7 separate regions of the Homo sapiens genome follow, and regions 1, 3, 4, 5, 6 and 7 are each linked to region 2. The links are contacts of gene promoters, found by promoter capture Hi-C in blood cells and fetal thymus (Javierre and others, 2016). All regions are on one chromosome and are shown on one strand. The core of a region is centred on a gene start or on the middle of the fragment in contact, and the rest is flanking DNA. Distances in the headings are between cores, read along the strand shown. Region 1 overlaps PARD3 (par-3 family cell polarity regulator). Region 2 holds the start of CUL2 (cullin 2). Region 3 overlaps CCNY (cyclin Y). Region 4 overlaps CCNY (cyclin Y). Region 5 overlaps CCNY (cyclin Y). Region 6 overlaps CCNY (cyclin Y). Region 7 overlaps CCNY (cyclin Y).

The links. The method cuts DNA at HindIII sites, captures the fragments that hold promoters and counts their contacts. A CHiCAGO score of 5 or more calls a contact.
Region 1: a contact is called between a fragment that was not itself captured here and the fragment with the promoter of CUL2 in region 2, in 1 of 17 cell types (fetal thymus). The highest score is 5.8, in fetal thymus.
Region 3: a fragment that was not itself captured here is called in contact with the fragment with the promoter of CUL2 in region 2 in 1 of 17 cell types (neutrophils); the score reaches 5.1 in neutrophils.
Region 4: a contact is called between a fragment that was not itself captured here and the fragment with the promoter of CUL2 in region 2, in 3 of 17 cell types (activated CD4 T cells, neutrophils and total CD8 T cells). The highest score is 6.8, in activated CD4 T cells.
Region 5: a contact is called between a fragment that was not itself captured here and the fragment with the promoter of CUL2 in region 2, in 4 of 17 cell types (activated CD4 T cells, total CD4 T cells, naive CD4 T cells and 1 more). The highest score is 10.3, in activated CD4 T cells.
Region 6: a contact is called between a fragment that was not itself captured here and the fragment with the promoter of CUL2 in region 2, in 9 of 17 cell types (activated CD4 T cells, total CD4 T cells, naive CD8 T cells and 6 more). The highest score is 14.3, in activated CD4 T cells.
Region 7: a contact is called between a fragment that was not itself captured here and the fragment with the promoter of CUL2 in region 2, in 10 of 17 cell types (neutrophils, total CD8 T cells, total CD4 T cells and 7 more). The highest score is 19.9, in neutrophils.

What each region holds. Positions count from the first base shown.
Region 1 is chr10:34,769,643-34,772,396 of GRCh38, forward strand. All of the region lies in intron 1 of PARD3 (par-3 family cell polarity regulator), which reads right to left. Among named protein-coding and RNA genes, the nearest start is that of PARD3, 44 kb to the right of the region's middle. The HindIII fragment of the contact is 3,192 bases long and covers 1-2,754 here.
Region 2 is chr10:35,088,866-35,091,871 of GRCh38, forward strand. It overlaps CUL2 (cullin 2), which reads right to left and starts at 1,476. Exons shown (of 21, transcript NM_003591.4): 1 at 1,314-1,476. RefSeq lists silencers at 1,247-1,376, 1,397-1,596, 1,650-1,838 and an enhancer at 1,757-1,896. The HindIII fragment of the contact is 6,346 bases long and covers 1-1,812 here.
Region 3 is chr10:35,469,193-35,471,892 of GRCh38, forward strand. All of the region lies in intron 1 of CCNY (cyclin Y), which reads left to right. Among named protein-coding and RNA genes, the nearest start is that of CCNY, 130 kb to the left of the region's middle. The HindIII fragment of the contact is 9,869 bases long and covers 1-2,700 here.
Region 4 is chr10:35,399,032-35,401,797 of GRCh38, forward strand. The region is part of intron 1 of CCNY (cyclin Y); the gene reads left to right. Among named protein-coding and RNA genes, the nearest start is that of CCNY, 64 kb to the left of the region's middle. The HindIII fragment of the contact is 8,358 bases long and covers 1-2,766 here.
Region 5 is chr10:35,419,630-35,422,344 of GRCh38, forward strand. All of the region lies in intron 1 of CCNY (cyclin Y), which reads left to right. Among named protein-coding and RNA genes, the nearest start is that of CCNY, 84 kb to the left of the region's middle. The HindIII fragment of the contact is 5,790 bases long and covers 1-2,715 here.
Region 6 is chr10:35,440,188-35,442,906 of GRCh38, forward strand. All of the region lies in intron 1 of CCNY (cyclin Y), which reads left to right. Among named protein-coding and RNA genes, the nearest start is that of CCNY, 110 kb to the left of the region's middle. The HindIII fragment of the contact is 1,722 bases long and covers 393-2,114 here.
Region 7 is chr10:35,490,638-35,493,337 of GRCh38, forward strand. All of the region lies in intron 2 of CCNY (cyclin Y), which reads left to right. Among named protein-coding and RNA genes, the nearest start is that of GJD4, 110 kb to the right of the region's middle. The HindIII fragment of the contact is 6,610 bases long and covers 1-2,700 here.

The sequences.
Region 1 (2,754 bases), core at 1-2,500, 320 kb before region 2:
AGCTACTCAGGAGGCTGAAGTGGGAGGATCACTTGAGCCCAGGAGGTCAAGGCTTCAGTGACCGTGATCATGCCACTGCACACCAGCCTGGGCAACAGAGGGAGAGAGAGACCATGTCTTTAAAAAAACAAACAAACAAACAAACGAACAAAAAAACAAAACAAAAAAAAAAACAAGAAAACCATACCTAGTGTTCTTCAGTTATACACTTTTCTCAAATTCATACACACACACACACAATTATAACCATTTCATACTTACAAGGGGTCCTTTCCTAAGTGACATTAATTCAGAATGTGGGGTTCCCCTTCTCTAGTACACCCTTACCATCAAACCAGCTCCATCTGGTTAAAATACAGCCCCAATTTCCCTGCTCAAAAATTTTCACTGGCTCCCAATGACTTCCTCAGTATTAGCGGATGGCCCTTCATCCAAGACCCTCCGGGACAGTCATTTCCTAGCCTTATCTTCTGCCTGCAGACCACATCACCCAGCCAAATGTTTCCTGCTCCTTAGACACAAGTCACCCTTCATGCTGTTTCAGTCACCATGCCCACACATCTGTCCTTCTATGAAGATCTAGTCAATGCCATCTCCTCCCAAAAGTCTTTCCTGGTTATGGCCAATCCATGATCATCTCACACCTTTGAACTGCAAAAGCACTTCTTACTGCTGATTAAAACTATCACTTTTTGCCTGGTATTCTAAGCATTCTTAAACGGAGATGACACCTCGAGCCCTCGGCTAGCCTGTAAACGCCTTGAGGGCAGCACCTCCAACCAAACACCCTGCACATAAAAGGGTTATCTGGATGTGATGAAGTAACTTGCTCCCAGACTTTTCATCCTAGAGGCCCTGAGGGTCAGGAAGAACTGTAAGTGAAAGGGAGCCATGGGCATTTCTGAGCAGGAAACTCTTGCGCTGGACCTGCATTCTGAGAAAATCAAGGTGTCCCGGCAGAGCAGAAAACGCTAGCCTTGCAGTCAAGACTCACCTGCCACTTACAAGGTATGTGGCCTTGGACAGATGACTCTCCCACCACGGACCACAGGAATCTAATCTAGAACTTTTGCTTTCAGAGTAAATTAGGAAAGGCAGATAAATTGTATCTTAAGTTCCAGTTTCCTAGGGGTATCACCTGCAATGATGTAGAGATTCCAAGACTCCAGACAGGGATGTGCCCTGTTCTCAGTTTCCATGACAGACCCGGAAAGGTGGGCAGCAAAGTGAGGCCATGGATTTGCCAGCCCTGGGCCCCGTGATCTTTAAGGTCTGACATCATTGGATTTGGAAAGGCTTTGAGATGCTCCTCTGGGAACTCAAAACCCTAAAAGTCTACAGGGTTGTTCTGCAACGGAGATGCAGAACTCCCTGTGATGGAAGACATAAAAGGGAAAGACGGAGAGACAAGAGGAAGGAGGGAAGGAAGAATACCAACCTAGTATTAAAATTGGTCACTTGAAAACATGCAAGCCCTGTGATTTTCATCAGGAAACTGCACAAAAAGTAAATTCATAATGTCTTTTAAAAGTTTGCATTCCTCTGATTAAAATGTTCTGGCTTTTGAAAGCAAATGGTGATGCTAAATGTGCTGGGCACAATGGTTACATCAGGAAGAAAGACGGTGCAGCTCAGAACGTGGCTCTGCCTGTCCCTGTGGTTTGACTCAACATTGCTCAGCCTCCCCTCTTCATCTGAGGTAACAGCAACAACTATGCCCCCCACACAGGATCACTGTGAGATTAAAGGGGTCCCACGTGTAGCATAGTGCCTGGCACATGGGGAGCAAAGAGTGAAGGAAGGCTGGCTACAGTTATTATCACCATCATCAAGATCATGACTATGTCATTAGCAGCATATTTCTGTCAGCGTGTTAATGCAAAACAATTTTTTAAAACAGAAAAGTTACACAAAACTGAGAAAGAAAAATGACGTCGGTCAGCCCGACCTAGTCTTACAAAATTACTTGCTGGCTTTTCTTTGGTGTCTGGTTTTGATGCCAGCCAAGGAACAGTTGTCACTAACTCTTTTCAATTTGGTGGTGTATCTTATGAAGCAAGAGGTGCTTAGACAAAGACACACACATGTTCAGGCTGGTATACAGAAAAGAACTGATCTGATAGAAATGAACATCCTGTGCTTTCAGGTAGAAACAAAGGAGTTTTTCAACAGAGTGAGCTCAGATCTTGTATTCTGGAGCTTCAGAGGAATACAGCAAGTTAAAATGACACTTTTTCCTAACAGCTCGCCAGGATAAGCCAATGAAGATGGGTCACACCTGGAAACAACTTCCATCAACCCCTGGCAGGGGTAAAAAGTCATTTGTGGATCCCTTTCACAAAGGTAAATACCAAGGAAGTTCTGCAGTCTGGAAGGTAGAGTGGCCTACATTCATCTCGCCCAACAAGCAGAATGCAAGATGCACCCCTCCAGGGGTTCCTGCTTTCACTCACAAATCCAGAATGCCCTGGTCAGTTCTATAGCAGAAAACCCAAGCTCACTGGGCGTGGTGGCTCACACCTGTAATCCCCGGACTTTGGGAGGCTGAGGCGGGTGGATCACTTGAGCTCAGGAGTTCGAGACCAGCCTGGCCAACATAGTGAAAGCCCGTCTCTACTAAAAATACAAAAAATTAGCAAGGCCCCCTGTAATCCCAGCTACTTCAGCCTGGGTGACAGAGCAAGACTCCATCTCAAAAACAAATAAAAAATAAAAGGACTTGCATTCCTCGAATAAAAGTTATTTTCTCATTAT
Region 2 (3,006 bases), core at 226-2,725:
AAAAAAACAAGTAATTCAAAACACTGTGGGCTGGGCGCAGTAGCTCAGGCCTGTAATCCCAGCACTTTGGGAGGCCTAAGCAGGCGAATCACCTGAGGTCAGGAGTTCAAGACCAGCCTGGCCAACATGGTGAAACCCCATCTCCACTAAAAATACAAAATTAGCCGGGCATGGTGGCGCATGCCAGTAATCCCAGCTACATGGAAGGCTAAGGCAGAAGAATTGCTTGAACCCGGGAGGCGGAGGTTGCAGTGAGCCGAGATCGCACCACTGCACTCCAGCCTGGGTGACAAGAGCAAAACTCCATCTCAAAACAAAAAAACTGTGTACTTCTCTTATCTCACGCGACTCTTTTGGAAGGATCTTCCAGATACTGTATAAGGGCAAAAGAAGCAAAGTATAGCTCATTTGTTCATGTGTCTGTCTTGAAAAGGAATGTAAGATTCTAAAGGGTAGGCAACAGTGTTTTGAATGTTTTTAAGCGATTATTATGTAGTCAGTTGTCAATCAGATCAAAGTGATTATTTCCGATACTTTACTACGAAGGTAGGCTTGGCCAGGTCTAGTTCAAAGACGTTTATGTTGAACAGTCACAATCTATAGCGAACGTTAATATTTTGCATCTTATCTTCAAAATTTAAACGCCCAGGGTACTGGCCTTCAACTGTTAATATTAATCCATGGGGCAAAGATGTGGACTTAACATTAATAACAGTCTGCAATTCACAGATGTTTTATTTGCATGCACGTAATGGTAGGGAATGGTCCAGACTCTCTAGAGGGTAAGCAAGTGCTAGAAAGCGTGTGAGGATCTTATTTCACCAGACCCTAAGGGTTGAGACAAGAAGTCTAGCATGCACGTAGGATACTCCTCCCCAAAGCTATCAATCTTTGCAGTCTGCGGAAACAAAAGTGAAAACACTCGGGGTAAGGATGCATGAGATGCCCCCCCCCACACACACACACAAACACACAGAGTTGTGTATTCGTGTGAGCACGTAAATATGTAGAAGAATACACGCACTCTCACCTTCCCTCCTTCGAAGGAAAATGGGGCCGCGGGAGAGGCGGCCAAGATCGGGTTGGGGAGGCCCGGGATCCAGTCCAGGGGGTGGCAGGGCTTACGGGTCAGCGCTCTGGGGAGCCGAGGTCACTTACAGGATACCATCTTCCCGGGCCTCCCCCTTTCATCCCTCTCCCCACACCTCGTCGCCCCCAACTCCTCTCCTCCGCCCCAGCCCCGCCACCCATTAACCGGGAAGGGAAGTTTCCCGGCGCCTGCAGCCCGGCTCCCCGACCCTCAGCGGGGTTACCTTCTGCAGAAGCAGGGCAAGGGGCAGGGGACAAGGGGAGGGGGAGGCAGCCCGAAGGAGTGAAAGACGAAGCCCCGGCGAGGAAGGTGGGCGGAGGCGGCGGCGGCGGCGGCTGTCAGCTCGCGTTCCCCTGCTCACAGCGCTGCCATTACTGTGCGCCGAGGCCGCCTCCCCGGCCGGCCGCCGCCACCGGCCCCGGAGACGCGGGGGGTGGGGAGCGAAGCCCGGGGAGCCCGCGCGCCGACACTCACCTGTCTCCGCGAGGAAAGACAGCAAAGTCCAAGGCCGCCGCCGCTCCCCGGCGGGACAGGGGCGGTAGGGAGGGGGGGAAAGGGGAGAAGGACGGGCCGATCACGGGATCCGTAAAACAATCGTCCTCCTCTGCCTCCGGCTTTGCCCAACACACACCCTCCGGTCTCCTTCTTCCGCTGCTGCCAAATCCCCCCCGCCACCCGGAAAGCAATGGTACAGGCCGCGTTACGGCAAGCGCAGGGAGCCAAGCTTCGTGTGATTGCGAAAGGCCACGGAAATTAATATTCCAAGTGATTCCTTGCTGGGCTTGCTGTCAATGAGGCAATTGCGGTTCGCTGAGCTGATGGACACAGTACCCACCCACTACCCGTTAGTTCAGGGACTGCTAATAACAATATGTTGGAATGGTGCTTTCAACAGAAGTATGTTTTCCTTGTTTCAGACCTATGTGAATATCCTAAGACACCACAATCCTCTTGCCACACACTTCCATGGGCTTTGCAAATGATCAAAAATAAATTAGCAAAACTACTTTTCCTCTCTGACAAACTCTTTTTCTTGTTAGTTTTTATCTACAGAGAATTTCTTGGACATACATGTATTTTCGATAAAGAAACTTCACATCTTTTTCACTAATACCCCACCTTCACCAAGCCCCAAGCCTATCAGTTTGAAGGGTTTTCCTCCCTTGGAGTTTTAAACGGTAAAGCTGATAAAAATATAGAATTACTCATCACCTCCTCATATATGCAGGGCCACAGAGGAACAAAAGCCCGGCCTTAGTGCTTTTTGCCTTTCATATCCTCAAGAGCTCACCATCAGGGTCTTGTTCATTTATACGATTCAGCAAGCTTTTCCCTCCCATCCCTTCCTTCCAAACTGCACGAACCCTTCAAGGCCCATTTAAAACCCTGCCTCCAGACCTGATCAGTCCCTAGAGCCTTCCTCCTCTTCTAATCTGCTTCTCTTGGTACTTGAAGTCTCTACTCTTTATTTCAGTAAAGGGTTTTTATATACGAAATTCAATCCAACAGTATGTTTCCATTATGTGACCTTTTTTTCCTCCCATGTTTTCCCCCTTTTAATCTAGTGATTCTCAAAGTGTGGTCCCCAGACCTCTGGAAATCCCTGAGACCTTTACAGAGGTCATAAGGTTAACAACTAGTTTGTTAACAATGCAATATGTCTGGTCCTTTTTTTTTTTGGATACAGAGTCTTGCTCTGTCACCCAGGCTGGAATGCAGTGGCGGCACAATCTCAGCTCACTGCAACCTGCACCTCCCGGGTTCAAGTGATTCTCCTGTCTCAGCTTCCCGAGTAGCTGGTATTACAGAAGCCCGCCACCACACCCGGCTAATTTTTTGTATTTTGTAGAGACAGGGTTTCACCATGTCACCACATTGCCCAGGCTGGTCTTGAACTCCTGAGCTCAGGCAATCCA
Region 3 (2,700 bases), core at 162-2,661, 380 kb after region 2:
TCTCTTTGATTCGGGCCTTAGGCCGTTGACCCTGCTTTCTTGCCACACTTATAGGCATTTAAAAGGCTGTATTATATTTTAACTCACATTACAAAGTGCATGTAGCATGAGAGCTTTTAGGTTATCTGGTCTGTGTATTGGCAGAATAATCTGTCTTTAGTCTTAACATTAGCATCTTTATCTCCTTGATTAATCTTAAGATAGAATATTAGATACATTAAGATAGAAAATTAGAAATAGGACAGCAGAGAGGAACTGGGGAGGGAAGAAGGGAAAACGGAAACAGTTATAGCTAGGAAAAGAGAAGGAGGAGAAGAGAGACTGAGAGATGGGTTGGAAAGAGGAAGATGGAGAGGCAGAACGGGAGATGGAGAGATGGACAGACAGGGAGATGGAGAGACAGACAGACAGGGCAGTGGAGAGACAGATAGACAGGGGGAGATGGAGAGTCAGACAGGGCAATGGAGAGTCAGACGGGAGATGGAGAGACAGGGAGAAGACAGGGAGATAGGGCACTGGAGAGACAGATAGGGAGATGGAGAGACAGGGAAATGGGGAGACAGGAAGATGGAGAGACAGACAGGGAGATAGGGCACTGGAGAGACAGATATGGAGATGGAGAGATAGGGAGATGGAGAGACAGGGCGATGGAGAGACAGACAGGAAGATGGAGAGACAGGGAGATAGATAGGGCAATGGAGAGACAGACAGGGAGGTGGAGAGACAGACAGGGAGATAGGGCAATGGAGAGACAGACAGGGAGATGGAGAGACAGACAGGGAGATAGGGCAGTGGAGAGACAGACAGGGAGATGGAGAGACAGACAGGGAGATAGGGCAGTGGAGAGACAGACAGGGAGATGGAGAGACAGATGAGATAGGGCAATGGAGAGACAGAGAGATGGAGAGACAGGGAGATGGAGAGAGAAAGATAGGGCGATGGGGAGACAAGGCAGTGGAGAGACAGACAGGGAGATGGAGAGACAGAGAGGGAAACAGAGATAGGGCAATGGAGAGACAGGGAGTTGGAGAGACAGACAGGGAGATGGAGAGACAGACAGGGCGATGGAAAGACGGACAGGCAGGTGGAGAGACCGACAGAGGGAAGGAGAGGCAAACGGGGAGATGCAGAGATGGACAGGGAGATGGAGGGACAGACAGACAAACAGAGCAGATGACTGAGGGCTGGATGTGTGTGCACAGAGAGCTGCACACAGAGACACATCCATTCAGTTAGCAACCCACTTGCGGAGAGACTGCCCTGGAGGCCCACACATGTAGACGTGTGGACACAGAGACACACACTTGCAAAGACATACACGGAGATCACCTGCAGGGGCACCAGTGGCTGAAAGAGAGTGAAAATAGGAAACAACTAAATATAAGTGTGTTATGATAGTCCAGAAAATAAACTTGAAGTCAGTGGGAGTAGAAAAGATGGCTTTAGGTGGGATTAACCAGAACTGCAGTAGCAGCACTTGGCTGCGGCAGCCACAGCAGGAGCTGTTGTTCTCGTGGGAATGCTGATGTGGGCTGCTGGGCTCAGGCTTCCCTGGTGACAGCCTCCTGGAGCAAACCAGCCTGGTCAGCTCCTGATTTCATCCTGTTGACACTAACAAATGGAGATAATCACTGATTGTGAGGCAGTGGCAGGGACAATAATAGCAACAAAAGAAACAATCTGATTTAAAATTAACAGGCTTTGTTGATTTCATAATTGCCTCCCACATCATAGCCAGATTTGGAAATGTGACTACCTAAAATTGAAATTAGGGGTTTGAGATTTTAACCATATCAAATATTGCTCAAAAGACAGGAAATAGAACTAGTGATGTCTTCGGAGGGTAACTGTGGGGCTGTACCACAGTTGGCCTCCCAGTTGAAACTCACTTTCTGTGCATCTTGAAGTTCCAGAACCTATCAAGGAATCACAGAACCCTTGATTCCTTTGGGCTCTGCTCACTGACACTGTCTAGACCTAAGTGGACAGCCCATCTTGTGGAGATGATTTATTGGAGTGATTATCAGTTTGGGGCGTGGCAGTGCAGAGAAAGGGGGATGCGAGGGGCTTGCGAGGGGGAGGGGATAGTTTGACTTTACAGGCTTGCTTTGGCGCCTCCTCTCCATCCAGTGCTGTTTAGGTCTTACTGTGCTTTTCTGCTTTACTTTTTACTAGTTTTTCAGACCATTAATGATAGCTTATGATGGCTGCTTTTCTTAGCCACTATCTTATTACCTGGATCCTTTATAACACTGGAAGGTAAACTTGGTGCTGGTTTAAAAGCCAAGATGAGCAATTGTGGATCACTGTTACTGTGACATCTGTGGAAAAGACTGAAGAAAATGAGGTTGACCAGTATAAGAGAATACTGCCGAATTAAACTGTGCCACATGCCGTTTGATTTATCTTTAGTTTTGAATAAAGGCATTGTATTTTACTTTGTGCTCAGCTGACACATGGACTGAAAGCAGTGTGACCGAACACTCAGTTGTCACCTCAGAGTCTGGCAGGAGGCCCTTAGAATAACCATTCTTTGAATATTTTAATTCAGCTGTGTGTCTTAATAGGTATCAACATCATAAACAAAAAATAGGCTAAGACTCTGCTTCCTAAATATTAGATTGAAGTCAGCTCAGGGGATTCCATGACATTCCTTAAAACTGCCTTTTCCTCTAAAGCATTACTTCCTCAGGTTAATTT
Region 4 (2,766 bases), core at 170-2,669, 310 kb after region 2:
TGCAGAAATGCATTTTAAGTTCCAAGCAAATGTACAAATGAACTTTGAGAACCCAACTGACTTGAAAGCATGAGCTGATTGGGTTTCTCACATGGTTTCTTCCCACATTTTATAAAGTTCCTGCTTTTTAACCATGTGTGCTTGACGGTAAGACAACTAAGGGCACTTTGAAAGTGAGGGTGGCATTTTGGATGTTCCTGTTGAGCATGGTGAGGTCGTAGCTCCCTGCTGGGCCGTGGAGGCTGTGGACTGCATGTCTGGCTGCTAACTCTTGGCTTGACTGCCCAGGATGCTTATCCATGTTTGAGGTTACTTCTCGGGGACTGGTGTCTTGGGTGTCTACTCCACTTTTCTGGAAGTCTTTTTACTCCACCACAGAATTTGGGTACTAGTGTGTGAAGTGGTGAGAAGGTGACATGACTTACAGACCAGCCTGCCTGCCAGGTGGCCGACACAGGACACAACGCTGTTTAATTCAAGGTGTGAAGGGAGGCACAGGCTATTCTGCTTCCTCAATTGAAAAGGAGCAGGATGGGTGTGGTGTTTCACGCTGTTAATCCCAACACTTGGGAGGCCAAGGTAGGGGGTTTGCTTCATGCCAGGAGTTCAAGACCAGCCTGGGCAACATAACGAGAGTCTGTCTCTACAAAAATAAACATAAAAGATAAGGGGTTATCTCTCTTCTGCAGTAGATCTTTTATGTGCGGAGTACTGATAGGGAGATACATAACTGGACTCCCCCTTAGCAGATCCCAGTAATATGCTCCCTTCAGTGCCATGCGGGGGAGAAAATTCTGACTGTTATGTAGCAAACCCTGAGAAGACTTCTTCCTGTAGATTGGAGATGTTCTGGCTGAACACAGGATTGACCTCCAAACTGGTGTTTTTGTTTTTGGAATAAGATACATGGCTAGTAGAGATAAAGTTCTGTTGACATGGAAGGCTAGGTATGTTCTCCAGTTTACATGGGGACTCAGAAAATATGTGGAGCTGGAGTCTCAGAGAAGGGACATGCAATGGGTCCCTTCTGACACCTGCCTGCTTCCCATCGCAGATCTCCCTTGCCTGATTTTAGCCCTGTGGATAGCTGTTCTGTATATTTGGATTTTCTTCCAGCACCATCTATTTGATGTAGGCAGTTTTATAGAAGAATTCTTTTGGATTTTGTAAAATACTAAAAACGGCTTCTAGTGGTTTGATGAAAGGCATTCTGTTTAGAATCTCCCTAGCACAGTGCAGGGGGCGGCGGGGGTGGTGGGGTGGGGTTGTTTCCCCTCTTGGAGAGGAAGCTGCACAGATCCCTCCCTGTTTTCCCCCTCCCCTCACCTTGGGAATGAATTCCTGGGGCATTTAGGTTGGTCTCTTTGAATTAGCTGGTTCAAAGAGGGAGAGAAGATGCTTCACGTCGTGGAATGGAGCCTTGTAATTGCTGACTTGATTGGATTACCCGAAGTAACCTTTTATGCTTAGTTAAGAATATGCTTTGTTGAGAAAGCATATTTCTGTTTTAAAATATTAGTAATTTTTTCCGACCAACCTCTTCTCTAACCTCCCAACTAAAAGAATTATCAGTAGCTGTTTCCAGAGTTATCTACTGTTCGTTAGATAATTAGGGGCAGGAATATTTATTAATGGTGCAATATGTACTTAAACAGTATTTTTGATGGGGAGAATTCAAGTACATGAAAGCAAGGGCGTGTTTTCTCCTCCCCCGGGATTGTAACTTGACTTCTCTCTCTCTTTTCTAGAGTCTCTTAAAGCATTTTGGAATGGAATGGTTGCTGTTACAAGTTGAGCCATGGTGCAGTTGCTGTGGAAACTCTAGCATGACTTCCCAGACTACTGTGTGTTTTTTAATAGTAGGCACACCATGGCATTGAACTATTATCTTAATGCGCACTTTTTTTTTGAGAGAGAAATAGAAGGTGGTAGAGAAGAGAAGAGACTTTCTCAAATGTACACTTTGTGGAATACTTTACTGAAGTAACTGTGCTCTGAAGGGTGTGCAGCAGCACCTAGGGTGGAGGCCCAGCAACTGGCCGGCCCCGGCCCAGGTGGCAGCTGAGTTTCAGCTCTGTCGAGCATCAGCAGTTCCTATTTTTTGTAGAATTTTATACTGAGCTCTGTGTGCTTAGAATTGTTGGACTCTACCTGCCCTTGTGATAGTTCCTTCTCAGGTTTAATAAGAATAGAATAGGGAGCTGAGAGGCAGAGATGAGTGCAGAGGACTGCGTAGAGGACCATTTGCTTACCAGGAAAGGAAGCTGCAGGTGTGCTCTTTTGTGATAGTGCTGTCTGTCTGTCTGGTTAAATCAGCATGGCTGGAGGTGATACTGAAACCCTGGAATCTGCAGGAGGATCACAAAACACTTTGCCGTCCAGTTCTGATTATCTGCCAGTTTCCTTCTTAAACAGCTATAACAAAAATTTATTTTGCCAGGAGAGAGATCAATTCTAAATTTCCCAAAGAAATTTTCTTTTCTTTTTTTTTTTTCTTAGGAGGTACAAGCAAAGGCATCTTCCTTTCTCCCTCTGAATTTTTTTTTTTTTTGCTCAAAATTAGCAGTAGTAATTGTCTCATGTGTGCGTGTGAAGAGACCACCAAACAGGCTTTGTGTGAGCAACAAGGCTGTTTGTTTCACCTGGGTGCAGGCGGGCTGAGTCAGCAAAGTGTGGTGGGATTATCATTAGTTCTTATAGGTTTTGGGATAGACGATGGAGTTAAGAGCAATGTTTTGGGGGCAGGGGGTGGATCTCACAGAGTAC
Region 5 (2,715 bases), core at 55-2,554, 330 kb after region 2:
TAAACCCCATTAGATATACAGCTCATTTTAGTTGCATATCAACTCATTTGATATACAACTCAATTAGTCCTACAGATTGATTTTAACTGCTTTATCTCATGTCTCTCTTTATATACGTTTACGTAAATATATGTGTGCATTTATGTGTGTGTGTGTGGTATATAATACTTTAGGTTTTGATACTTTTAGGTCATTCATACAGCATTGTGACTGCTGAAATTAGGAAATAGGCTGACAGATTACTAATTTCTAGGCAAACTTTATAATTAAAAGAAGAAATAGATATGGCTGTAATTTTTTTTTTTTTTTTTTTTAGTACAGTTCAAAATAAATGGTGCCCTTTGGTCCTGCAGATGGTTTCTTTCTTATCTAGTTTTTTCTCTACATGAAAAGTTTTGCTGACTCCTGTTCTTAATTTTCTATTGTTCTTAATTTAGGTCCTATGTCTGTGCTTGCCTGATTTTTCCTGTGACTATCTTTTACAGATAAAATAGTGGAAGAATCATCATGTATATAAGTTCAAGAAGTTTTCATTAAGCTGCTAATTTCCTAAAGAAATCTGGATCATGGTGCATCCTTTGTTTGTGTGTGGGAGGATATAGTGATACTGAATGAATCATGTCTTGCTCTGTAGCAAGAGGAATATTTGGTAAAGTTGATGTTGTTTGCTTTGGTGAGCAGTGGAGGTGGAGTGGGATCCGACCCCAGTGGCCCTAAAAGCAGCGAGCCCTAGAAACCAGGCCCACCTGGGTTTTCCTGGCTCTCTCTCACTTGTGCCCTCTTGTTTCTCATGAAAATGTGAAGCTGCTGTGATATTTTGGGGTCTCTGATTTGGCACAGGTAGCTTTTCAGTGACTTTGCAACTACTCTTTCTGCATATCTTCAGTTTGAGATGAACATGTTTGTGCAACTCAGCAACTCAGCACCTGATGGGGATTCTGGAGAGTGCACTGTGGGATCTAGGATCACCTTACCCAGTTCCCAATGACCAATTCATGAGGAAGTCGCAATCTCACACCAGAATCTCACTGGAAAACAAAATCAGACTCTCACCTAAAAAGTAGGGACTGAATATGAAGTAAACTTTTTTAAAGCAAATATGTTTTCAAACCGCAAAAACAGATGCTTTCTTTTGGCAGTTTTGCTCATCAAACCTAAGCTGAATGTGAACGGAGACTAATTTTTAACTGTTAATTCACAGCCTAAATGGCAATGAGTCTGAATTCTAATTTCAAAATCTTATTTGAACTCTGTGTTTGGCTGACTGAAGTGAAAAATGTATTGTTGTTTACTGATTCAGAATCATACCCTGCAGCATTTTAAGCCAATTTTGAGCAAGTCATGGCCAAGTGTAAATTTGCGTACTTAACATTTATTTGTTAGTCACACAGCCAGCCCAGTGGATAGGCCTGTTTGAAGTCAGGCTGTGTGCACCTATGCCAGTGCCGGCTCTGCTTTGGGGTGGGATTTTGGGTGTAGGACGAGGTTCAAAGGACCTGGCTGAGGACGGCCACACGGGTTGGACAGGCCGCTTCTGGAGAAGCCCACTCAGGTGTTGTTCCTGGATCACCTTTCTAGGCCAAGTGTAAAAGGAGAGGGAATTTCTTTGTTAAATTCATTCCTGGTTTCAGGGCCCTTTTGTTACCTTCTCTTCCACATGAGCTCCCGTCTCTGTGCTGCAGGAAGTTCAGAGGCACGGTTTATCATGGGTGCTTGGCACCACTCTCTCTCTAACTATGTGGATCCTAACTCCAGTCTCCTGATGGTCAGCTTGACGCGGGTTCACTGGATCAGTGCCTTCCAGTCCTGGGCAGGTGCTCTGTTTCTGTTATTCTAGAACCCCCGACCCAGGGAACACAGAGCTTGCTGGTCTGCCTTCATTTTCTCACCTCCAATTTAAGACCAAGTAATTTTATTTTGCCTTCATTTGGTATTTAGAAGCGTCGGGTGGCTTTTGTCAGGGACAGTTTCATGCCTCTCTGGCTTTTGTCCGTGTTGCCTGGTGCTCTTCTAGCTGGCCCTGCTGACTGGAGTCTGTGATGGACTCCCATTTTCTTGAGCTGAGTCACTTGTTTTCCTCCAGGATGCCGTTCCCTACAGCTCATCCTGCTTGTTTTCACTTACTTTCCTGTTTTCTGCCCTTGCTCTTATATCCAGGCCTGTTAGATCTGAATCTAGTCATTCTGCTTTCTCTTCAGAGGTTTCTCTTGACAGTAAATATAAATACAGTAATTTCTGTGGGCCAGATATGGTTCTCAGTGTTGGGTGAATTTTAATTCAGTCTCCGTAACAATCTTAGGTGGATACTCATCTCCATTTTGCAGAGGGGAAACTGAAGCACAGAGAAAGTCACTGCCCCACAGTCATCAGGGTGCCAAGTGGAGGAGTCAGGGTTGAAGTCAGAAAAGCTGGCTCCTGAGCCTGCACTCTTAAATGCTATTCTATATTCTTTTTAAAACATTTTTTTGACTTATTTTGTATTCTATAAATATTTTTGACTCATTTTTCCATCTAATTTTACACCTTTCTATTCTTTTAAAATTTTTTTAAAATTTAAATTTAAAACCTACAGTCGTCAATAAAACATTATTCTATATTCTTGCTGGCTCGTGGCACCTCAGCTGTCTGGAATCTTCTATGTGGCCTCCTTGATCCCGGGATGAGTTAGCTTTTTCATATGATATTCAGCTACAATTCTATATAGGCAGTTGTGTT
Region 6 (2,719 bases), core at 4-2,503, 350 kb after region 2:
TGTTCTTTGGACAGAGAGAGCAGGTGTTCTTTGGTCTGTACCCTTCATGTTTGCAGATTGTCTCCTTCTTCAGCTTTTATCTGAGATAAGTGAGGCAGAAAGGAAACTCAGGGAACTCACCCCTGTGCTGTTTCTCATGTCCTTGTGTCCCTGGCCACTCTGGAGCAGAGGTTAGCAGAGGTTCTCTGGAAAGGGCCAAGTGGTCTCTGAACTGCTCAACTCTGCTGTTGAACCTCAGAGGCAAGCGTAGATGAGATGTAAGAGAACAGGCCTGGCTGCTCCATTTCAGCTTTGCTTATGAAAACAGCCTGGCCTGGATCTGCCTACCCTCCTCCAGACCCTTGCTTCCCACCCCTCCTAGTGCTGACTCTTTGCTAGATGTCTTCAGAATAAGCTTCAAGTTTTCTTCACTGCAGCGTATTCTGCTGTTTTAGACCCCTGTCCGGGGCACAGCTTTGTGGTGGTGATCACCTGTGGGAGAGAACTTCAGAATCAGCTCCTAGAAAGAGTGATTCTGGGCAGCAGAAAGGACGGAGCCTAGAGCAGTTTCCAAAGTAGAATGAAGTGTAATTGCACACGTGGGACTCCAGTCCCTGCTTATCTTTACTTCTGAGAAGCATTACATACATTTGTTAATTATGCTACAAGAGAGGTAGTCTTAACTCATAAACTGAGCTGAAAGAAGTCTAGATTTTCACGTGTCATTGCTATTTTAAGACATCTCTTTTCACACATCATTTTGTTTTAACAAGTGTACCTGGGAAGTTAAGGATGGGTGCTCTTATTTCCATTATATTGCTTTGGGTTTTTCTCTAGAAGAGAGAGTATACAATTGCCAATTCAGAAGTGATTCTATATTGTTAGCACCACTTATAAGACTCCATTTGCCTGAAATGGAAAGGAAGAGTCCCATAAGGAGCTAGAATGGGGCCCCATGTGGTATGAGGGTCAGGGAGAGTCTGTAGCACTGACAGGTGTTTTGGCCTCTTCTGAATACCGCCTTGTTTTACCATGTTGCAGAATGGAACCATTGTAAGCCAAGAACAAGTTGGCCTTTAAACTGTTGTTAGCAAAGAAGCAGAAGCAGTCTTCTTTGAAATGACTTTCATTTTGGAAGGAACAGAGACAAGATGAATAAGAGCTTTCCCTGATGTTAAGTGTTTGTGGCCTTAGAGAGTGGTACAGAGTTTCCTATGTATCTGCATTGTGTACGTTTCTTGTTTTCTTAATTTTAGGGCCCTATTATTACTATGCTTTAGCTTAGCAATTGGGCTTTTCAATGGAAAAAGCGGTAGGAGGCTGGGCGCAGTGGCTGCGAGGCCGAGGCGGGAGGATCACTTGAGCTCAGGAGTTCGAGACTGGCCTGGGCAACATGGGCGAAACCTCATCTCAACTAAAAATAAAAAAGGAAATAGCCAGGGATGGTGGTGTGTGCCTGTAGTCCTAGCTACTTGGGAAGCTGAGGTGGGAGGATTGCTTGAGCCCAGAAGACGGAGGTTGCATGAGCTGAGATTGTGCCACTGCACTCCAGCCTGGGTGACAGAGTGAGGCCCTGTATGAAAATAGAAAAGAAAAAGCAGTAGGTTATTAGCATAAACTTGATAAGAGTTCATGCTGGTGTATCTTATTTTAAGGTGTAGATGTCTTTAATAAAGTTCATTTCATTAAATGAAGTTAATTACGTATTAATTGTAAAATAAAAATGTGTTTCTCTGGAAAACAAATTTGGCTGTATGATTTAAAATGATCATACTTAAGAGAATACCCATTGTTGTAAAGTCTGTATGAAAGGAAAAGTTCCCATTTATAGTTTTAGTTAAAACGATGACATAATTTGAAAGAACTTAGATTCATTGTTGCATTTTAAATAATAGCTTAAAAGTCCTAGTAAAGCAATAGTGAAAGTGTACCTGGGTATAACACATGGGCTGGCTAGAAATGTCACTTAGCCTGCATGACCCACAGAGTGTTGCCATAACTCCTGATGTGTAGGGCCCTGTTTGCGTTGGAGTGATGCAGATCTCTGAGGCAGTGCTGGTTGCCCTCCAAGGGCTTATGGTGGTGGTTGGAGAAATAGAACTAAATAAGGGAAAATTAGGTAACCTTGAATGCTAAGCTTAGAACTTTGAAGCAGAAGCAATGTGAGTCATTAAAAGGACATAAAATTAACTCACAGTTTATTAGCCATCTGCTGTGCATCAGGCTCATAGTGTGGTGGGAGAGATGGCTTTATAATTGAAAGGTAGTGAAATAATGAGACCGGAGACTCATACAAATTGCCTGGATAGGAGGTACTTTGTTGGGAGTTTAGGGTGGTCTACCTGCAAGACTTGATATTTGAAAATAGTTTTTAAAAACAAGTAGGAGTTTGCTTGTAGGATGAGAACTTTTTAGTTAAGGGAAAACTGTTTGAAATACTGAGATATGAAACAGCATGATGTATTTGGTGAGTAGAAGACATTTTCATGTTTGGAACATATAGAGTATGAGTAATGAATTTGGGAGTATGAATAAAGAAACTACTGGGGATGGCTACGGGACGGGCTATTGATGTGGTTTGTGTTATTTTCTCCCTTTATTTCATATACAGTCGTGTCACTTAATGAAGGTGGTATGTTCTAAGAAGTGCTTTCTGAGAAATGTCTCATTAAGTGATTTCGTCATTGTGTGAACATGAGAGAGTGTACTTACCCACAAATCTAGATGGTCTAACCTACTA
Region 7 (2,700 bases), core at 1-2,500, 400 kb after region 2:
AGAGCCGGAAGTCTTTCCAGCACCCCTCCAGGGAAAGTCCATAGGACAAAGAAGCCTCCAGGTTGTGCCACAGGAGGCTGGCAGGAGATGAAAGACACATGAACCTGGATTGAAGGTGGTTACCACAACCCCAGTGGCTGCTTGTCTTTCCATCTGGTGCCCCTGGAGGTTTTCACACCAGGTCAGTGCAGGCCTCAGCTCAGGTGTGCCTGCCTTTCTTTGTGAAGTTGTGAGGGAGGAAGGTGGTTCCTGCATCACACCTCAGCCCATTTGAAGGTCTCTTTGAATACTTGGTTTGAGGACCTTTGCTCTAGTCTAGCCCTAAGTTACTTGTGACAGACCATTTCAATAAAAGAATTGCAAAAACTACTACCTCACCTGTCTTTCCCTCTAGTTTGGGGTGTGTGGAGGAGGGTGGGTACTCAAAAGCCATGAGTAGTTGAGTGTGCAGACAGGTCCATTTGTGCGTGCTGGGCTGCCCATGCCCTTGCCAACCTGTGGCCACCCCAGTGGCAGGGAACCAGCCTCTGGCCTCCAGTTAGGCAAGGCTCTAGGACCCAGCTCTGCGTTAGGCCTTTGTCTTCCATTAGTGGGATTTATAGTCACATAATCTCTTGGGTCATAACTTCCTATAAATTGACAATGGACACACCTGTCTCCTTAGAAGATTGCTCTCCTGAAGCAGTAGGGTGAGTCCCAGGCACACAGCGAGCCCTCAGCAATGTCTGCTCATTGACTTGTGATGTAACAGGTACTTTGGGATCCTCACTGGGGATCTCTTGAGCCAGCCTCTTCCAGGACCCCTGGCAAGAGGAGCCACCCCGTCCTGCCAGTGTAAGCATGTGTTCCAGAGATGTTTTCTGCCGCCTGGTAGACAGCCAGTCTGGAAATCGTACATGCTCCTTGGGGTTGGCATGTCCAAATCAGAAGTCAGCGTCTTTCCTCTCCTGCCAGCTTCCTCTCCCTTGTCACCTAATTTTTTATTTATTTATTTATTTTTTTGAGACGCTCTGTCGCCCAGGCTGGAGTGCAGTGGCACGATCTCGGCTCACTGCATGCTCTGCCTCCCGGGTTCACACCATTCTCCTGCCTCAGCCTCCCGAGTAGCTGGGACTACAGGTGCCTGCCCCCACACCTGGCTAATTTTTTGTATTTTTAGTAGAGATGGGGTTTCACCATGTTAGCCAGGATGGTCTCGATCTCCTGACCTCGTGATCCCACCCGCCTCGGCCCTCCAAAGTGCTGGGATTACAGGTGTGAGCGACCACGCCCGGCCTCATAACCTAGTTTTTAAGAATAAACCCATTGCTTGTCTGGGTCTTAATGGGCACCCCCAGAGTCCTGTAGTCAGTGTCTAAGCTGCACCTATATGCCCTGAATTTCTCCCATCCTCCCCTTCCTGCCTGGACTCTCGTTTCCTCCTTCCTCACCCAGTCTGTGGCGAGCCCCTTCCCAGTCTCCTGCCTCCATCATGTCCTCTCTCAAACCTTTCTTCCACCTGTCTGCAAGTGGAGCTTCTCTTAGGCCCCTCCCTGCCTGACCGTCTGTCTCCTCACCACTGGAACAGTGAGACACCAGCACACACACAGAGCCCTTTTCACCCTTCTTGTGGGTCCCCTCCCCTCCAGGCCTGAGAGGCCATCATCTGTGGCATGCTCTGCCCGCAGCACCTGCCCTCTGTCCATGCTGGCCCAATGGCTGCCTCATAGGTGATGCTTCCCTGTTTCTCTTCATTCCATTGATTGTGATAGACACCTTTCCTTGGCTGGAACACCTCTGAAATCAGCACAGTCAGTGACTTGCCAAAATTTAATTGGCAGCATTTTTTTTTTCTTTCTTAGTGACACATAGAGTAATGGTTTATCAGAAAATCAGTGGCATTACGTTCAGTGCAGTTTGCATATTCCTCTGTGTGGAGGTGATTATTTTTGTGGTATAGAAATAAATAGCTTTCTGTTTATCTGCTGGATTGCATCTTGCTCATGGATAGGAACTGTGCCTTTCACATTCCGCAGTCTCTGCAGTGGCTAGCACATAGAAGAAACTCACAAGCATAGGGGAATGAAGGAATGAAGGCAGGGCATCATGACCCACCCTGGGCAGACTTGCCGTGGCACGGTGGCAGTCTTCCCTGAGTAGTGGCTTTCTGTTTTGTGTTGCAGCTTTACCTTCTCCTACCTTCCCTAGCTTTGTTAGAAAACGACACATCCATTATTTAGGGACAGGAGGATGTAGGTTTTTTTAGGCTCAGGTGGTGTATTTGGGCTTTCCTATTCCGGGTCAGAACTCAGCATGACCGTGCCACCCTCAGGCCAGCTCTCCCCTCTCCCCTCTGCAGTCTTCTCTTGAGGTGCATGGGGGGGGGAGGGCAGGTATCAGGTTTCTTGGCCAGGCCTCGCCCTGTAAGTCAGAGGCGCTCTTTGGGTGCCGTGGCTCACTTTTCTTGGGTGCATCACCTGACTCCAGTATTTCATCCCTTGGGCTTTCCAGTGTGGAGAAAGCTGCTGATATAGTACAAACTCAGATGAAATCATTTAGACCCAGAATGTCAGTTTTCTCCGTACCTTTTATCATATCCTCTCTCCTGACCTGCGCTGTTCCCAGTCAGAACATTGCTCAGTGAGCACAGATCCAGAATAGAGGTTAGCAGGGATAATTCCCCCAGGCTGGGGGGAGTTTGATGCCCCGTCTACCACAGCC